3 separate regions of the Homo sapiens genome follow, and regions 1 and 2 are each linked to region 3. The links are contacts of gene promoters, found by promoter capture Hi-C in human tissues and cell types (Jung and others, 2019). All regions are on one chromosome and are shown on one strand. The core of a region is centred on a gene start or on the middle of the fragment in contact, and the rest is flanking DNA. Distances in the headings are between cores, read along the strand shown.

Region 1 (3,677 bases), core at 556-3,055, 490 kb before region 3:
AATTTGACGACACCAATATAGAAACTATCTAAAATGGAGCACAAAGAAGCTGGGTGCAGTGGCTCAAGCCTGTAATCCCAGCACTTTGGGAGGCCGAGGTGGGCAGATCACCTGAGGTCAGAAGTTCGAGACCAGCCTGGCCGATATGGCAAAACCCCATCTCTACTAAAAATACAAAAATTAGCTGGATGTGATGATGTGCGCCTTTAATCCCAACTACTCGGGAGGCTGAGGCAGGAGAATCACTTGAACCCAGGAGGCAGGAGATTCTCTTGAACCCAGGAAGCAGAGGTTGCAGTGAGCCGAGGTCATGCTACTGCATGCCAGCCTGGGCAACACAGCAAGATTCTGTCTAAAAAATAAAATAAAAATAAAATGGAGCACAAAGAGAAAACAAGGCCAGGTGCAGTGGCTCACACCTGTAATCCCAGCACTTTGGGAGGCGGAGGCGGGCGGATAGCGAGGTTAGGAATTCAAGACCAGCCTGGCAAACATAATGAAACCCCGTCTCTACTAAAACACAAAAATTTAGCCAGGCATGCTGGCAGGCGCCTGTAATCCCAGCTACTCGGGAGGCTGAGGCAGGAAAATCGCTTGAACCTGGGAGGCAGAGGTTGCAGTGAGCTGAGATCGCGCCACTACACTCTAGCCTGGGTGACAGAGCAATACTCCATCTCAAAAGAAAATATTAACAAGGGAGATAAATTAATTAATCTAAATGTTGGTTCTGGCTGGGTGTGGTGGCTCACACCTGTAAACTCAGCACTTTGGGAGGCCAAGGCATGAGGATCACTTGAGCCCACGAGTTTGAGACCTGCCTGGGCAACATAGTGACACCCCCATCACTACAAAAAAATACAAAAATTAGCTGGGTGTGGCACACACTTGTAGTTCTAGCTACTAGGGGGACTGAGGCAGAAGGATGGGTTGAACCTGGGAGGCTGAGGCTGAAGTGAGCCGAGATTGCGCCACTGCACTCCAGCCTGCATGACAAAGTGAGACCTGGTCTCAAAAAATATAATAAAATAATAAATAAATGTTGATTCTTTGAAGAGAGCAATAAAATTGATAAAAACTGAAACAGGGAAAGAGAAAAGATAAAAATTACCAAGATTTGGCTTGAAAGATGATATCACTACAGATCTGATAGACATTAAAGGATAAAAAAAAATATTATGGGCCGGGCACAGCGGTTCACACCTGTAATCCCAGCACTTTGGGAGGCCGAGGTGGGCAGATAACCTGAGGTCAGGAGTTTGAGACTAGGCTGGCCAACATGGTGAAACTCTGTCTCTACTAAAAATACAAAAATTAGCCAGGTGTGGTGGCAGGCGCCTGTAATCCCAGCTACTCCGGAGGCTGAGGCACAAGAATTCCTTGAACCTGGGAGGTGGAGGTTGTGTAGCAAGCTGAGATCATGCCACTGCACTCCAGCCTGGGCGACGGAGCCAGACTCCATCTCAAAAAAAAAATTATGAACAATTTTATGACAATAAATTTGACAATGGAGACAAAATAGAGAAATTCTCTGAAAGGCATAAACTACAAAACTTACTCTTTTTTAGTAAGAAATAGATAAGCTGAAAAGATCTATATCTATTGTTTCTCTCTGATGATGTTTAATTTCACAGTAATGTACCCAGCTGTGGCTTTTTTTTGTGATCTCGTTTAACCCTCTTTGAATCCTTTCAATCTGAAATTTTCCTTATTTATGATGTAAGAATATGACTTTTGGGGGATTTAAAAAACATTATGTCAAGTATTTAGTAAATGTTCAGTACTCAGTAAATATTAGATGCTCTGGCTGGGCATGGTGGCTCAAGCCTGTAATCCCAGCATTTTGGGAGGCCAATGCAGGCAGATCACAAGGTCAAGAGATTGAGACCATCCTGGTGAAAACCCATCTCTACTAAAAATACAAAAGAATAGCTGGGCGTGGTGGCGCACGCCTGTAGTCCCAGCTACCCGGGAGGCTGAGGTGGGAGAATCGCTTAAACCTGGGAGGTAGAGGTTGCAGTGAGTCGAGACTGTGCCACTGCACTCCAGCCTGGGCGACAGGGTGAGATTCCGTCTCAAAAAAAAAAAAAAAGTTAGCCAGGGCTGATTTCCAGCTTGTTTTGGATATAAACATCCAGAAGAGACATTTCTTCCACCCTTACAATGAAAAAAAAGGTAAACTTCCTTCAAATTACAGAGTATTTTTGAATTTATCGAAGAGTTGAGTTCCCAGGACAAAAAACTGGTCCAAAATCTAAGAAGCAACAGATGCCTGCAGGAAGAGAAGGGCACTAGCTTACTTGGGACAGACACAACCAGATACTGGTATATGTTTAGCTAGAAGAATTGCGGAATTCACGAAGGCTGGTGTGGACTGGCAGAGCACTCAACTCTGTTGCTCAGGCTGGAGTGCAGTGGTATGATCTTGGCTCACTGCAGCCTAGTCTATCTCACAGGCTCAATCCTCCCACCTCAGCTCTCGAGTATTGGGACTATAGATGAGTGCCACCATGCCTGGCATTTTATTTTTTGTAGAGACAAGGTCTCACTATGTTTCCCAGTCTGGTCTTGAACTCCTGAGCTCAAGCAATTCTCCTGCCTCAGCCTCACAAAGTGTTGGAATTACAGGCGTGAGTCACTGCAACTGGCTTTTTTTTTTTTTTTAACTGCTGTAAAAGGCAACTATCGAAAGCAAAAATAGCACAAGTATTGTATGTTTACAGCATTTGTAAAAGTGAAATATATGGCAACATTGGCACAATGAATAGAAGAGTTGGGAATATACTGTTTTAAAGTCCTTCTGCTACATGTGAGTGGTGTATTACTGAAGGTTCCTATTATGTGGAACCTATTTGACTGGACCATTCCATGAAAGTTGTAGGCATGAAAGAATAAAAGTGTTACAGAAATATGTGACCTTGAATTCTAAAATTACACTGCATTACATGTATTTTTATAACAAGTATGCTCTTATGCTTTAAAAAACTGTCTTTGTTTTCTTAATAGACTTGATTTTTTTCAGAACAATTTTAGGTGCACAGCAAAAACGAGCAGAAAGTACACAGTTCCTTTCATCCCCTCCCCCATATATGCACAGCCTCCCTATCAACATCCTGCACCAGCATGTTCTACTTGTTAGAACTGATGAACCTACATTGACACATCATAATCATCCAAAGTGCATACATTAGGCTTCATTCTCAGTGATGTACATTCAATGGGTTTTGACAAATGTGTAATAGCATGCATCCACCATTATAGTATCATGCAGAATAGTTTCACTGCCCAAAAAATCCTGTGCACTCCCCTTGGTCATTCTAAATTTTCATTTCTCTGAAGCTAGAAATCCCAAAGTTAGAGTTGGCCTTTTTCATTCTAAAGTATGTCTTCAATTCTGGGAAATTCTCAGCAATAATTCTTTCACATGTTCTTTTTTTCCCCTTCTGGAATTTCCATTAGAAAAATATTTATGCTTCTACCTTCCACATTTCTTAACTCTCCTTTCATGCTTTCCATTTCTTAGTTCCTTCCTTGCTCTAATCTTCCGGTTCATGAGTGAACTGTCCAGCTATATTCAACCCATCCATTGAGTTATTTCATTAATATTTGTCAACATCCAATTCACAAATGCTTGTTTGTGCTTTGTGTTTCCAACATTCTCCCTTCTTTCTCTGAAGCTC
Region 2 (3,289 bases), core at 546-3,045, 330 kb before region 3:
AGTAATAGGTCATGTCCCAGCAAAGTCCAACTGAGGATGCCGTGGGCCTGACAAGGGAGAGGAGAGAGCACACGCCGAAGGAGCTGGAGAATACGCCAGAGGAACCAAGGCCACTCCAGGTGAAAGTCAGTCCCTGAACTGCTGCAGCACCCCAGATCTGTCCATACTCCGCCCAACACTAGTGATGGGGTCCCTACTGCCAGCTTGCCAGCAGGGATCCAGCTCCAAAGTCCCATCTTAGAGTCTGCTTCCCAGGACCACCTCAATTTTCTTAGATATTCCCTGGAAACAGAGGTAGAGTGTTGCATACAGAAAGGCTGTCGAGAGGCATGTGTAGGCAGCTGAGGAAGACAGGACTGAGCAGAAGGAGAAACTGATCCAAAATGCAAGTTCAACTAAAGCTTTAGGCAATTCTATAGGGTGCTCTGGAGCTGGGCTGGAGATCATTCTTTTGTGACCCTGGTATTGGCCATGGGTCACCTACTGGGAGGGGAATACCCTTGGGCAAGGCAGTTCTCTGTGGTTGAGGGCCTTCCCAGTAAGTGACGCAGCTGTGAACCTTCCCTGCCAGGAGCCAGGGGCTGGGTGCACTGGCCCCGAGAGGGGATCCTGGCAAAGGCACACTATCCACCATGCCTTCTGCCTCCAGCTGCCCTCTCTCTCTTTTCTATTTCATTAGTTCTTCTCTATTGGCCCATTCTCATCAGTACATGATGTTGCTGGTAATGCCGCCCATAGAAAAACAAACAACCAAACAAGACACCCTCTGTTGGGGGCTCAGTGCGGCTCTCCAGAGCTCTCCAAGTAGTGTTAGAGTCGTGATTAAAACAACAAGCCAAAATGAAAGCACCAGTCAAGCTTTCAATGTTTTTTTTTTTTTTTTTTTTTTTGAGACAGGGTCTCACTCTATCACCCAGGCTGGAGTGCAGTGGCACAATTTTGGCTCATTGCAACCTCCGTCTCCCCAGTTCAAGTGATTCTTCTGCCTCAGCCTCCTGAGTAGCTGGAATCACAGGCATGCACCACCACGCCCAGCTAGTTTTTGTTTTTAGTAGAGATGGGGTTTCACCATGTTGGCCAGTCTGGTCTTGAACTCCTGGCCTCAAGCAATCCACCTGCCTCAGCCTCCCAAAGTGCTGGGATTACAGGCATAAGCCACTGCTCCTGGTCATGCCTTCAATCATCTAACGCCATACCTTAAGCAAAGGGCTCGCTTGGAGGGAATGTCCACTCCCATCTGCTCTGTTTTCCCTCATGGAACAGTGTGCAGAGGGTCAGATATCAGGGGAAGGGTTAAGGGTGGAAAATAACCAAGTCCAAGTAGAGAAAAGCAAGATTCCTTCTTCTCTTCATGATAAGAAGAGGCATCTGAGGAAGGCCTCATTCAGAGACCCCAAAGAGATTTCAAATGGAGGCACCTGGACTAGGAATGCAGATATGTGAGAGCAAGGCCTGCCCATGGGACCTGAGTCCTTGACCACAGCACCCTTCAGGACTGTCATGCACTGACTGTGCATCAAGTCTGGCATGGAAAGGGCAGCCTTCCCTGTGAGGCCTGCCAGGAAAAGCCTGTGTAATTGCCTATGATCAAGTTTGAAAGATCACATAGAGGTCTTTAGCTAAGAGCTGAACTCCTAACCCCCTGTTATGGCTCCATCCCCCAGCTGCTTTTGCTAGCAAACTCCTCAATAAACTTGTTTCTACTCACTATTTCCAATTCCACAATCCCATTCTGCCATGAATCCATTTCCATTAAATTTTTGTCTCCATCATTTCATAAAAACTGCTATTGTTCAGATCACCAAAGATCTCCACGTTTCATCTTTGTATCTATGTCCAGTTGATTTTGACAAGGGTACCAAGACCATTTGGTAAAGAAAGAATACCAGCTTGGGCTACATGATGAAACCTTGTCTCTACAAAAAATACAAAAATTAGCCAAGCATGGTGGTGCATGCCTTTAGTCCCAGCTACTCAGGAGGCTGAGGCAGGAGAATCGCTTGAACCTGGGAGTTGGAGGTTGCAGTGAGCTGAGATTGCACCACTGCATTCCAGCCTGGGTGAAAGAGTGAGGAAAGAAGGAAAGAAAGAAAGGAAGAAAGGAAGAAGGAAAGAAAGAAAGGAAGAAAGGAAGAAGGGAAGAAAGGAAGAAGGAAAGGAAGGAAGGAAGAAAGGAAGGAGGAAAGGGGAGGAAGGAAAGAAGGAAGGAAGGAAAGAAGGGAGGAAGGAAGGAAAGAAGGAAGGAAGGAAGGAAGGAAGGAAGGAAGAGTCTTTTCAACAAATGATACTGGGACAACTGAATAGCCACATGCAAAAGAATGAAGTTGGACCCTTACCTCACACCATACACAAAAATTAACTCAAAACAGATTGAAATATTAAATGTAGGAGCCCAAAATACAAACCTCTTAAAAGTAAACATAGAAATAATGACTCTGGATTTAGTGACAGCTTCTGAGATATGACACTGAAAGCAAGAGAAGTCAAAGAAAAAATAGAGAAATTGGACATCAGCAAAATAGAAAACATTTACACTTCAAAATACACTATTGAGAAAGTGAAAGACAACCCATGGAATGCAATAAAATTTTCACAAATCACATATCTAATAAGCAACTTGTATATAGACTACATAAAGAGCTCTTACAACTCAATACTAAAAAGACATACAATCTAAATAAAAAATGGGCAAAGGATCTGGAGGTATTTCTCCGAAGAATACATACATGTGGCCAAAAAGCACACGAAAAGTTGCTCTACCTCATTAGTCATCAGGGAAATGCAAATCAAAGCCACAATCAAACGCCACTTCACACCCACTGGCATGGCTATAATGAAGACATCAGGTAAAAAGAGGGAGAATGTGGAGAAATTGGAACCACTCACATACACTGGTGGGAATGGAAAATGCCATTGTGGAAAACAGGCACTCCTTTAAAAGTTTCCATAGTTACCATTTGACCCACCAATTTCACTCCTAGGTATGCACCCAAAAGAAATGGAATGTCTACATAAAAGCTTGTACAGGAATTTTTATTATTTATTTATTATTTATTTATTTATTTATTTTGTTGAGACAGAGTCTGACTCTGTCGCCCAGGGTGGAGTGCAGTGGTGCGATCTCAGCTCACTGCAACCTCCTTCCCCCTGGGTTCAAGTGATTCTCTTGCCTCAGCCTCCCAAGTACCTGAGATTACAGGCACCTGCCACCGTGCCCAGCTAATTTTTTTTTGTATTTTTAGTAGAGACGGAGTTTCAGCATCTTGGCCAGGCTGGTCTTGAACTCCTG
Region 3 (3,455 bases), core at 555-3,054:
TCTTGAACTCCTGACCTCAGGTGATCCACCCACCTCAGCCTCCCAAAGTGCTGGGATTTACAGGCGTGAGCCACCGCGCCTGACCAGAGTTAGATTTCCAAGTAAAGCAAAATGTCACCTAGCAGGAGAGAGGAAAAAAAGAGAAAGAGAAAAAAGACAAGGAATGGGGATGGGGTAGACTTCAAGGAGGAAGAGCAAAGGTGACCAGGATGAGAAGGGAGATGGGTGGGCATGGGCTGCTCAGAAGATGCCCTGAAGGGTGGGACCAGAGGAGCCAACCCTGAGAAGCGCCTGTCACTGACACTGGGTCATTCTTTACATTTCAAAATCATTTTCACATCTCTGGTCACATTTGCATATCACAGTCACTGTGAGTGGGTGAAGAACACATTCTTTTTTTCTGCTTCACTGATGAGAAAACCGAAGCATGAAAAGCTGCAGTGATTTGCTCATGGTCGCGCAGGGCTAATTTATTCCACATTTGGGATGGGCTATTTCTATCACACAGCAAGAGTCAGTAATTGCTTTCCTGATATTTCATTTTTTTTTTAAAGCCAATACCATGAGCAGTCTATTAGGAGACAAATTCTCCTTTATTTTATACTTACACCCTGTGACTATTTCAATATTTTTACTTAACTACAATTTCTCAAATTTCCTTGCTCATGTCGAAGCATTTGACTAAAATATAGCAAAACCACTGTTCCTTTCAAGGGGGTCAAAACGTTTTCCGTGGATGGGAGCATGTCATGTGAGCAAAGATGAAAGTAGCTTTGTTGCACTCTTCTGGGAATCTTTCTAGGGATATTACTAAAGTCAAGAATAGATCAGAAATGAAGAAAAGATGGGGATATAAAGAATAGCTTTCATGGAAAATTGAAATCATTCCTTTTAAAGTTTACAATTTCCACCCTGATCATAGATCCCCAACCCTGCAGGATGGGTTCTTCCCAGATATGAAGGTGGCTGCAGCGATAGGATTTTGACGCAACTGTGATTGATGTCAGCAGGTCCAGACCGTGATATTTCATGACAGATTTAACAGACATTTATTAAGTAGATTCAATGGGAACAGCTCCAGGCTAGATGGGGCTGGGAGATACAAAGGGAAGATGTAATCTGTGAAGGTCGTAGAGGCCAATTAGGGATTGAAATCCCACGGATATGGGTTGTCGTACACCCACTTCACACCAGTTGCTCTTATTCTACACCATCATTTCACATAAGCCTCCCACAAATGGCAAGTGGAATGGCATGATTCTCCTTATTGCAAGATGAGGCTATCTGGAAGGATCCAATGACTTCCCCAGTGAGTAGGGGGCTGCCCCGGGCTTTGCACCCAGGCTTTTGTCTCCAAGCGAAGAGTTGTCACTCACTGCACAGGAAGCAGCAGGAGAATAACCAAGTCACGGTCTAAAGTTGGGACACCCAACTGAGTTTCAGATTTCTGCCTGCACCAATGACACAGGAATTCAGAATAAGGGCGAGATCCTTGTGGGTTCGTGTGATGGTGGCATGGCGATTCATGCTTGATTGAGAAGACAAAACGTGAACACTTTAAGGGCTTCTTGCACAAGTGAAGTGGTTGTGGAAATGTTTTCAAGGAGGAAATGCCTTTTTAATAGAGAAATTTACTTGGCTAGTTAGCAGAAGTTTTCTTTCTTGGGTTAAAAGTAGTTGCTGCTATTATATCCTGAAGCATCTGGCTGTCCTGGTGGGGACATATGAGCGCTGCCACAGGCCGGGAATATCCCAGGCGAGTAAGAATAGCCCACAATAAGAGATGACTGCTGCTTGCTCTGCTGGTCACTGCAGTTGTCAGGAATGTTTCGCCTCAGAGGCAAACGGCTTAGGGCCGTCTCAACTTGGAGACAGAAAAACCCACCTCCTACTCCTGGCTCAGACCTTTGCTTTCTTATCTCCAGCTCACACCTTTAAGTCTTATGTAGTTAAAGGACATTTATCCGCCTCCTTGGAGAACACAGCCCTCCAGTGTCTCCTGCAGCCTGGAGCCTGGGACATTCTGGAAGCATGGAAGGCGTGGACTTGCTAGGGTTTCTCATCATCACATTAAACTGCAACGTGACCATGGTGGGTGAGTATTGGGACCATCTCCAAACTCCTGCGCTGTTTTTATTTCCACTGCCATGGTGGAATTGAGTCCTTAAAGGGTCCAGGTATTTACTCATTTTCAGTGTGCAAGCACCAAGCTGAAAGTCCACCCACTCCCAAAAGAAAGGGCTGTGCCTTTCTGGAGGGAAGAGAGCTGAGGCTTCTAGTTTCTTTGAATGGTTCCGCGGTTCCTCCGTCATGTAAGGGAGTCTTGCGTTTGACATTGTTCTCTCACAGATCATCCTGTGCTGACACTGGGGTGCTGACTCCAAAGACCAAAGCAGGTGGAGGGGTGTTTGTGTGCAACCCTGGTGTGGCTACGTTACCAGGAAAAGGAACAGAACAACAAATGTTAATCAGAAGGTGATACCTTTAGGTTTTATTCTGGAAGCTTGGTTTTTTTTTTTTGTTTTTGGAGACAGAGTCTCACTCTGTTGCCCAGGCTGGAGTGCAGTGATGCAATCTCAGCTCACTGCAACCTCTGCCTCCCGGGTTCAAGTGATTCTCCTGCCTCAGCCTCCCGAGTAGCTGGGACTACAGGCGCCTGCCACCACGCCCAGCTAATTTTCTGTGTTTTTAGTAGAGACGGGGTTTCACCGTGTTAGCCAGGATGGTCTCGATCTCCTGACCTCGTGAGCCACCCGCCTTGGCTTCCCAAAGTGCTGGGATTACAGGCGTGAGTTACCACGCCTGGCCTGGAAGCTTAATTTTTAAGGAGTAGCCATTTCTCTTGTGCACTTTAAACCAAATCCCAAGTTTAGTTATTTTTTTTAACAAAGAAAATAATAGATTTTTGTTTAATGCAGACGACTCACATTTTCAGAGAGGTATGGGGGTCAGAAAAGGATGAATATATGCCGGAGATGCAGTTGATACTTTTCTGGCTCATTATTTTGTAGATTTAGACAAAACCAACTTGATGTTAAAAGTTCAACTCAATGACTCATCACATAATGATATTATTCTTTGTTTGACTGTCTTTACATATTTATTTTTGTTTTGTTTTTATGATGTCAGGCGATGTTTCTCTCATCACAAAACACAATATTCACAAGTTATTTTGGCTGAGTTTTAAACATGTTTCGAAACAGTTGGCCGGTGCCATGAAAATAGGGCTTGACAGTTATTTTGGTTTTCTAGCTTGGTGTCATTCCTTCACGATACATTGAAGAAAGACAAGCCCCATTCATTCCTAATAACTGGAAAAGGGGAAGAGGAATTCTGAATGATTAAAAAATCTGAAAAATGGAATGTTCATAAAGAAATTCAATTTCAAGGGCCGTAGACTAACATTAAATACAAGCCCTGTGATTAAATAGAGATCCCTGGACTGTTGTCATAAG

The links. The method cuts DNA at HindIII sites, captures the fragments that hold promoters and counts their contacts. A contact is called where the count stands out against the background at its distance.
Region 1: a fragment that was not itself captured here is called in contact with the fragment with the promoter of GJD4 in region 3 in 1 of the 25 tissues and cell types used here (mesendoderm cells).
Region 2: a fragment that was not itself captured here is called in contact with the fragment with the promoter of GJD4 in region 3 in 1 of the 25 tissues and cell types used here (aorta).

What each region holds. Positions count from the first base shown.
Region 1 is chr10:35,114,883-35,118,559 of GRCh38, forward strand. It overlaps a transcript of CUL2 not described here. Among named protein-coding and RNA genes, the nearest start is that of CREM, 10 kb to the right of the region's middle. The HindIII fragment of the contact is 9,031 bases long and covers 1-3,677 here.
Region 2 is chr10:35,278,244-35,281,532 of GRCh38, forward strand. It overlaps a transcript of CCNY not described here. Among named protein-coding and RNA genes, the nearest start is that of LINC02634, 35 kb to the left of the region's middle. The HindIII fragment of the contact is 4,093 bases long and covers 1-3,289 here.
Region 3 is chr10:35,603,537-35,606,991 of GRCh38, forward strand. GJD4 (gap junction protein delta 4) reads left to right here and starts at 1,805. Exons shown (of 2, transcript NM_153368.3): 1 at 1,805-2,095. The coding sequence starts at 2,032. GJD4-AS1 (GJD4 antisense RNA 1) reads right to left here. Exons shown (of 2, transcript NR_199600.1): 2 at 1,026-2,429. The HindIII fragment of the contact is 12,098 bases long and covers 1-2,658 here.